2 separate regions of the Homo sapiens genome follow, and region 2 is linked to region 1. Evidence: promoter capture Hi-C in 16 types of primary human blood cells and fetal thymus (Javierre and others, 2016). All regions are on one chromosome and are shown on one strand. The core of a region is centred on a gene start or on the middle of the fragment in contact, and the rest is flanking DNA. Distances in the headings are between cores, read along the strand shown.

Evidence for each region. The method cuts DNA at HindIII sites, captures the fragments that hold promoters and counts their contacts. A CHiCAGO score of 5 or more calls a contact.
Region 2: a fragment that was not itself captured here is called in contact with the fragment with the promoter of HCLS1 in region 1 in 1 of 17 cell types (total CD8 T cells); the score reaches 6.1 in total CD8 T cells.

The regions. Positions count from the first base shown.
Region 1 is chr3:121,658,754-121,662,868 of GRCh38, reverse strand. It overlaps HCLS1 (hematopoietic cell-specific Lyn substrate 1), which reads left to right and starts at 1,966. Exons shown (of 14, transcript NM_005335.6): 1 at 1,966-2,049. RefSeq lists enhancers at 1,694-1,743, 1,934-2,123. The HindIII fragment of the contact is 5,970 bases long and covers 1,169-4,115 here.
Region 2 is chr3:119,459,276-119,463,390 of GRCh38, reverse strand. TMEM39A (transmembrane protein 39A) reads left to right here. Exons shown (of 9, transcript NM_018266.3): 1 at 1-55; 2 at 1,243-1,429. The coding sequence starts at 1,317. Among named protein-coding and RNA genes, the nearest start is that of TMEM39A, 2.3 kb to the left of the region's middle. RefSeq lists an enhancer at 1-105. The HindIII fragment of the contact is 4,172 bases long and covers 1-3,348 here.

The DNA.
Region 1 (4,115 bases), core at 717-3,216:
TTGTCTGGCACATAGTGAAAACATTAGGCCCCTAGGGATCCCTCTGGGTGGGAATGGGAGAAGAGAAGCTTAATAGCATGTAGCAGGTTAGATAGGCATTATTATGTTTTGTTTTGTTTTGTTGGGTTTTTTTTGAGACCGAGTTTCACTCTTTCGCTCAGGCTGGAGTGCAGTGGCACAATCTCAACTCACTGCACCTTCCGCCTTCCAGTTTCAAGCGATTCTCCTGCCTCAGTCTCCCAAATAGCTGGGATTACAGGCACCTGCCACCATGCCCGGCTAATCTTTGCACTTTTAGTAGAGATGGAGTTTCACTGTGTTGGCCAGTCTGGTCTCAAACTCCTGACCTTGTGATCCACCCGCCTCAGCCTCCCAAAGTGCTGGGATTAGAGGTGTGAGCCACCGTGCCCAGCTATTATGGATTTTTATATTAAGTTGCTGCTTGAGAGAAGATAGCTCACTTTCTCAAAGTACAATAAGTGGTTTAATTGAACCAAGTCTGTCTGGCTTCAAGGCCCATTCTTTTTCTGTGTGATACACCTCACTACCTCATCAGTAATGAACTTGTGACATTTGCTAAGGAAAGATGGGACTTCTTGGTGTCATCTCTGATTAATTTCTATATTTTCTCTAGAGAACTATGTACCTGGATGGTGTGTCACATCATCTAGTCTAAATCGTATTTTGACACTACATGAGGATTCCAAGTGATTTTTCTCTTGTACAAACGTACTCTTCCTTATCATAACTTTGGTACCACCATGATAAATAGGTAATAAAGTAGAAGGAATAAATAAAGCTCCCCCAGGCATAGAATCCTTAGATTTGGAAGTGACAGAGGCTTCATATTCCTAATGCAGAAAAGTGCCTGTATCATGGGCCAGTTTCATCCAGTCCTGCTTAAACTCCTTGGAGGATGCACCGTTGTGAACAAATCAAGAAGTCCACAATCAAGATTAGGAAAGGCTAGGTCAGATACAATAACAGACACCCTCAAATTCTCAGTAGCCAAAACAAAGGACTATTTTTTAGTGAAAGACTCCAATTCCCCCACATGGTGGATGGGGCTCCACTTGTGTTCTTTCTCACTCAGGGACCCAGTCTGCTGGAGGAGCCAATATGGAGAATTGCAGGTTGCCTTGGGCAGTGGTGAAAGCATGGCAAAGCTTGCAGTGGTCTTACGGCCTCCGCCAGAAAGTGGTATCTGTCACTGGCCAAAACAAGTCACCTGAGTAAGTCTGACTTCAAGAGGGAAGGGAGGGGCAGCAAGTCTTGACACGCAGTAAAACAGGATACCACAAAGACCTTCTTCCATCAGCTGACCAGCACCTGGTTCTTTCAGAATTCTTCCTACGCTCTAGAGCCAAATCTTTAGTTTGTTAGCTCAGACTCCACAGTGCCCCAAACAAGCTAGGAAACTCTCCTTCCATGTCTTGCCTTTTCCCTCATGAGTTATTCTCTTCTGGCATTCAATTGGTCGACGTTTATTTGAACATCTATATGAAAACTCCACTTTTAAGTGCTGTGGGTAATATAGGGGTGAGTTTCTTTTTAAGTCTTATGCTTCAAAACCCACATATAAATCACTTTTCCCATAAAGCCTTTCTTGATGAATACACCCAATACCAAATGCTCTGAATTCCTTTACTGTCTCAAATGTAACTGCCACCCTATTTAGGACACAATGCTGTTCTACAGCATTCTCTAATGTGTTTTCTGGTTGAATGTTTGTTTCTCTCACTGGATTACAAACTCAGAGTCAAAGCAGCATTTTCTATGACTGCTCTATGACCCCCATTGTCAAAACCTTGCAAAAGACCAGGCACAGAAACATTTAATCCTTTTAAAATTTAAGTGTCTAAAGCAGAAGGAACTGACTCAAATTTCAGGAAGTAGCTGTGAGGATGGGGTGGCAGGAAATGACGAAAACCTGAATACGGAACTGAAGCAGCAGCTCAGTTTCTCACTCCGAAGTGGCAGCAGCCAGAGAGGGAGTCGGTGTGGACGCGAGGAGCCGGGCGCTTAGAACAGAGGCTTGCACAGGTGGAGGTGGGTACTCTGAGCCATGGGACAGTTGGGAAACACAGAGTAAGAGTTGAGGAGGAACCTACCTGGCTCTTAGTCCTTGGTGATGGGCAAGGTCACCACTAGTAGGCTTTTATCCTTTTATGGCCAGAAGGCCTGGTTGTGAGTGGTTGTAGCAAATCAGCATCTGGAGATAGAAACAAAAGGGAGGGGCTTAAACCCAAGGCAAGTGTTTCAGGAGCCATCTAGCACCAACATCAAGCAAAGTGTTGCCTGGTTTCTGCTGACAATCTACAACCCACTCTAAGGCCTGTCTCCCCTAGGTACTGAGCTGGGAGGAGGACCACAGGAGACGAAAACAGTGTCTGCCCTTGAAGAGCATATGGTCTCAGGGAAACAAACCCACACAGGAAATGTAACAGATCAGGAAGTAGTCACTGATGTACACTAGCACTGAGTACCAAGTGCTGATGGAGCCCAAGAGAAGGCATGATTGTTCTGCTGGGGCTAGTTTCTGTGTTCGTAGATCACAGAATCTCAGAATGTCAGAAATCAAGGAGACCACAGATGAGCTACGTTAACCCCTTCATTATTTTCCACTGGGAAAATCAGAGATAATTGCTGATTTGCCAAATTATTAAAGTTAGTATTTCTTAATCGCCTGGTCTGATACCTGGCAAATGAGTACCTACTCTGTTGATGCCCTTGTGATGGTCCCTCAGAGGCTTAGTCACAGAGCTGGGGTGACAGCCAGGGCTTCTGACTCCCAGTCTGTGTACTTTGATGCAGGAGGTCAGCATCGCAACAAGGCCTCACCAGATTACTCTCTGGTTCTCACCTCTAGATAGCACTTCTTACCTTTCTGGTTTCTGGTCAATAGGTCAAGGATATTAGATAAATTGTCTCTATTTCAGAAACTCTTTATTTCAAAAATGGGTGAATGGGAGAGTCAGGCTGAGGCCTCAGAGGAGCCACAGGAAGGAGGATGGGACCATCAGTCCTCATTGCTTCCTTATTGCTCATGACTATTTCAGAAACTTCTCCATTCCAGTTTTCTGTGTGACAGTCCTTTTGTTGTTGCACAGCAGCCCAGGAGCCAGGGGATGAGAAGCAGAGGGGTAGTAAGGATGCAGGTAGTAAGGATGTTTTGCTGTCTCCAACCGCATCAGGGAAAGCCAAGCTGCTTTCAGCCATGACTCCCGGCTGACTCAGTCAATATCTCTCCGGTGTCCCCTTAGCATCTCTTTAACTGATTTACCCAGACTTCCCCTGGGCTGGTTTTTAAGAGGTTGCTCAATGGAGAAGATGGAGCTTTCAAGTGGAAATAGAAAACTGGAGAATCTGAAGGCCTAGGTGGAGACAGGAGAACCCGAGGAGTGGTTGTAAAGGGACTCTTTGGAGACGATGGAGAGCATGGGGAAGGTCTCCAATGGGATGAGGTGTCTGAGGAGGGAAGGATTGCCAGCTAGCAAGTGCTGCCAGGGTCAAGAAGTCTCAGTGGTGACCACAGCAGATGAGCATTGTCTGTTGTTACTTCTTCACACCAAATCCACAGATGCAGAGCAACTGTGCCGCTCTTCCTTCTGCACAGTCCGGAAGGCCGTCTAGAACACTGGGAATGCCCCAGCAGAATAAGTTTGGCACCCTTCCAAGCTAGGGTTCTCTAAATATTTCTGCAACATTTATTTAGTTGATAAAAACTGAGTACCTCTTAATGTTCAAAATCAGATTTATTACATATTATTCTTTTTTCTTTTCTACGGTAAATTGTCAACTTGAAAACATGCTATTTTTTGACTTTAGCAATTAATTGAACCATTTTTAAAAAATTGAGTAATAACTGACTTATTCCCAGCAAATAATGCTCTCCCAATGCATTGTTCCATGTGGAAATTTCAGCCGACTGTCGCTGCTGACCTTACACAGCTGTGAGGTGACCAGACTCAGGGTGGAGGTGGGACAGCACTTGGACCAGAGGCTGGAAAAATTCTCAGTGTAGTTCAGCAGGTTGTAAAGAGGGATGTAGATGTTCACTTTGTGAGAAGCAGAACCAATTTGTATTTCAACAGCAACAAAGGAATCATATATAG
Region 2 (4,115 bases), core at 13-2,512, 2.2 Mb after region 1:
AAAGTTGTCGCCGCTTTCTAGGGACCCCGCCCCACCGGCTGGGACTCTTCCATGCGTGAGTATTACTGAGCTGCCCCAAGGTCCGGCTGTCCTGGACCTGCCTCGGCCCTCTTGGGTGTGCGGCGGAGACTGCTTTGTCTACCTTTCTGCCGACTTCTCTTAGGGACCAGTCTGTTGAAGTTTGTGGTCTCCTGCAGTCCACCACACCGCATACTCTCACCTCTTCCGTCCCAGTTTTTTCCCTGCACTTTTCTTTCCCTTTGCTTGTTAATGGAGCAAGGACCAGCAGCCCCTGCATCCAGCGGTTTGAATGCTTTGTTTGACTTGGGGTTAGTTTACAGCCGAAGGCTGTTAGGAATAGGGAGCATTTGAAAACACGGGTTTTTTCCAGTGTCATCCTTGGGTTTTAGTTGTATTGTTTAGGAAACATTGGTATCCATGTTGACAGAATCATGATTTTTGCCGTAGAATGATGAAAAGAGCTTTTTTTTTTTTTTCCAGTGAGGATCTTTATCTTTTACTTGCTTCTTAATCTTGCAGTTTCAGTAATTTCTGTATGATTTTACACCAGCTTTTCTGGAGCGGGCATCCCCTTGAAGAGTTTCTTTCAATATTTTAACCCTAACATATAGAGATACCACTCGAACAGTTTTACTTTTAAACTGTTAAAAGAACTACTGGTACCCTTTCATTCCACTTCCTCAGTCCTGACAACCTCTGCAGAACAGGGGACACTCCCCCCCCCCGCCCCCCCCCCTTGAAGAAACACACTCAGAAGAACACACTCAGAAGTTAACTTATCCGGATAAGGTCAGATAATATGTGACCATCTGAGCTCACAAGCCATATCCCTTGATAACAAAACCTAATGTTTTATAAAGTGCCAATTCTTCTATATTTCAAGTAGTTTAAGTGTGAAACATTGAGCTGGAAATGTATAAGGTGTGATGTTTCTTGTAAACTTCTATTTGATTATAATATCTTACAGATGATACAAATCAGTTGACAAAAGACACAAATCATCACTTGCCTAAAGCTGAACAGAGCTTAGATCAGAACTTAGGCTTTTGACCCATTAGAGTCTGAGTAGTCCTTTAATTCGAATAACGTAAGTAGTAGACACTGGGAACATTCGTTTGAAAATCTTATTTTGTAAGGCCTGCTTACTCAGTGTTTGTCGTTGTTTTGTTGCCTACTTTAAAAATAGTCTACTGATGTTTAAATGTTTTTGTTGTCGTTCAGAGTTGAAACTGGTTGACAACCATTAACCTGGGTTGCAACTACAGGTGGCACTGGAAGCAGACTGGTTCCTGGACATGCCCGGTGGAAGGAGGGGCCCTAGTCGGCAACAGCTAAGCCGTTCAGCTTTACCTTCTTTGCAGACTTTGGTTGGTGGAGGCTGTGGCAATGGAACAGGCTTGAGAAACAGGTAAAGAAAAAATAAGGCTATATATAATTTTAATGTCCTTTGATCAGTAAGACTAACATAAAAGTCATCATGTCATTCAGATATTTGCTTATTGAGATTTATTCTTGACACTGTGGTAGAAATCCTGCCCTTCAAGACAAAATTCAGAATTCCAAAATACTTTGGAGGTAAAAAGATGTGAAATGGGGCCCACAAAGTGAAAGCAGTCCCATTCTTTATTTTGGCTGATCATCTAAATTCTTGTTATCCCCTTTTTATCTATTAGAAGAAGGGAGAAGTGAATGAAAATACAAGGTAAGTGTGATGGTTTATCTACTTATAAGCATTCTTTTTTTAGAGGGCAAATTATAAGTCAAATTCCATCAAGGATTTTAAATTGTCAAAAAATTGTTTGGTCTTAATAAATGTTAGCTGTTTTTTAGCTGGGTTAGCCCATGCCATCAGGAGGTTTGATAATGTAGCAGTTCAAAGAGATACTTTTACCTAATGAAGTATTTGCTCAAGATATTTTCTGCCAGCTAATTTCTCCTTCCTCCCTGAAAAAAGTTTTTCTCTTGTCTTGATTTTAATTTTCAGAGCTAGCAATCAGTACTACTGTATTTTCAGGCCTGTCTAATGGTATTTATGCACTTTTGTTTTCTAGGCCTGACCTTTGTCCTTTTTTTTTCCTGACTTTCCAATCCCTCTTCCACCCAATCTTTAAAATTAGTTCTGATCTCATCATTTCAGTGGAGCTCTCCCTGAAATTCCAGTTTGAAGGGATTTTTCCAGTCTCCGATTCTCATACTAATTTTTAATCCGAGTTTTGTTTATGTATGTATACAGAGTAACTAGTTTATGCTAGAGTATTTTTTACTCTGCCGTTCGTTGGATTTCCTTATTTTAAAAATGATGGTACTGTTTGCATCATAGCAGGATGTTGAAATAAATGAAGTAGTAAATTGCAGTAACTTTAAAAAACTTTACTGAATTTTACAAAATTTCTACAAATAAGTATTATTTTATATACTTAAAAATAAGAATGAGAATATGCGAAAATGCTTTTGAAGAAAGGTACTATCTAATATAGGTATTGAGATAAAAGTTGTTTGCTCTTTGAGGTACATGCCTTAATTTTATTAATATATGCTATCAACTTATTGATTCAGTACTTTCAAATTGTGATAGAAAATCTTAGCTGTCCCTAACTAGGATTCTAGCCAACTAAAAAATTCTAACTTTGCCTCCTAACTCTAGCAGTTCTTTGTTCGTTCTCTTTGACTTTGGCTTTGAGGATTCCTCTAGATAATTATGTTCTCTAGATAAAAATGTTCTTAGACTGTCCCATGAAATCCCTCTTCAGTGTCTCAGGGGTTGCTGTAGGAGGGCTTAGAAGGGAAAATGGATCAGGCAAGCCTAACAGTCTAGGCTTGAGTTTTCCTCGTCTTCTTTTAATTAGACTGACTCATTTTCCTATGTGTTTTAAATATTAAGATACTATGTAAAATATCATGAGGAAAGGAAAATAAAGCGTTCTGCTATTAAAAAGAACTGAAAGCCAATGAAAATGTCATTTGTAGATGCTTCTGCTTGCACTTAGAGTCTGCAGATGGTATACTGGGAAGAAGTAGGAACGTTCGGAAAATACCTCGGCTCTTGACTGGGTTTGGTATTCTTTTCTCTGCCTTCACTGTAGCTCTTCTATCCTGGTATTCAAGGTTCCAACCATGGTTGCTTTAATCTGCCTTTCTCTCCTCCTTTAACATATGTTTATTTAGCAATTAACTGGGGGGAGGGAGGGAGTGGGTAGAAAAAAGTATTTTCCAACATTTTAAAATGAAAGAAATAATTGTTTATGGTTTGAAAAGTCACCAAGACTATTATTGAGTGATTATTTGTGACATGTTTACCTAGAGAAATTATTTGGGGAAAAGAAAGCTTTATATTTCTTTCTTGGTGGGAAGCAAGCAGCTGGAATAATTTGTTATAAAAGACCTGGGGACGAGGTATGAAAACATGAAAGAACTAGCGGATAGCTTATAATATAGTTTTAGGAAGGATATATAGAAAGAAGGAGTGTCCAGATGAGGAGAACTCACTTCTGGAGTGTCTATAGAGTATTGGAGGGAAATAGATAATTGCTTCAGTATTACATACTTTTGGATGATACATTTGATTCTGCAAGACAGACATAGGTCAGCTGGAGAGGAGAGAATTTGTCCCTGTTTGGTAGGTGCTTGTGGTCTGATTGGTGAAGTTAAACTCTAGAATGTCAAGGAGCTAGTTTGGTAACACAGTCAAGGTTGAAATTGTAGTTCCTTGTCCTGCTGTCCACCTTTGGGGAGCAGGGATTTGTTCTTGCAACAGTGTATTTAAAGTATTATCCTTTTAAAAAAGGAAGATATATTGTGTATTTCTGGATTTCTTAGAGAGTTCCTGATTGAGGGAGAATCTTATTTGAGAAGAACTATTGTTTTCTTTGCTTATTCCTTGCATATACTTTGTTAATAATATCACCTGAACGTGTCCAAATGACCACTGCTTTCCCTACCTCTTCTATTCCTCTTTATGCCTTTGAATCTTTCTTCTTTCATCCATTTGCTTCCCTAAATTCTGCTGCTTGCTGGCTCCATACCAGTCAGTCTCAGGCCTGCTGTGTTAACCCTTTGCCACACACAAACTTTATATGCAAGGACAAAACACAGGT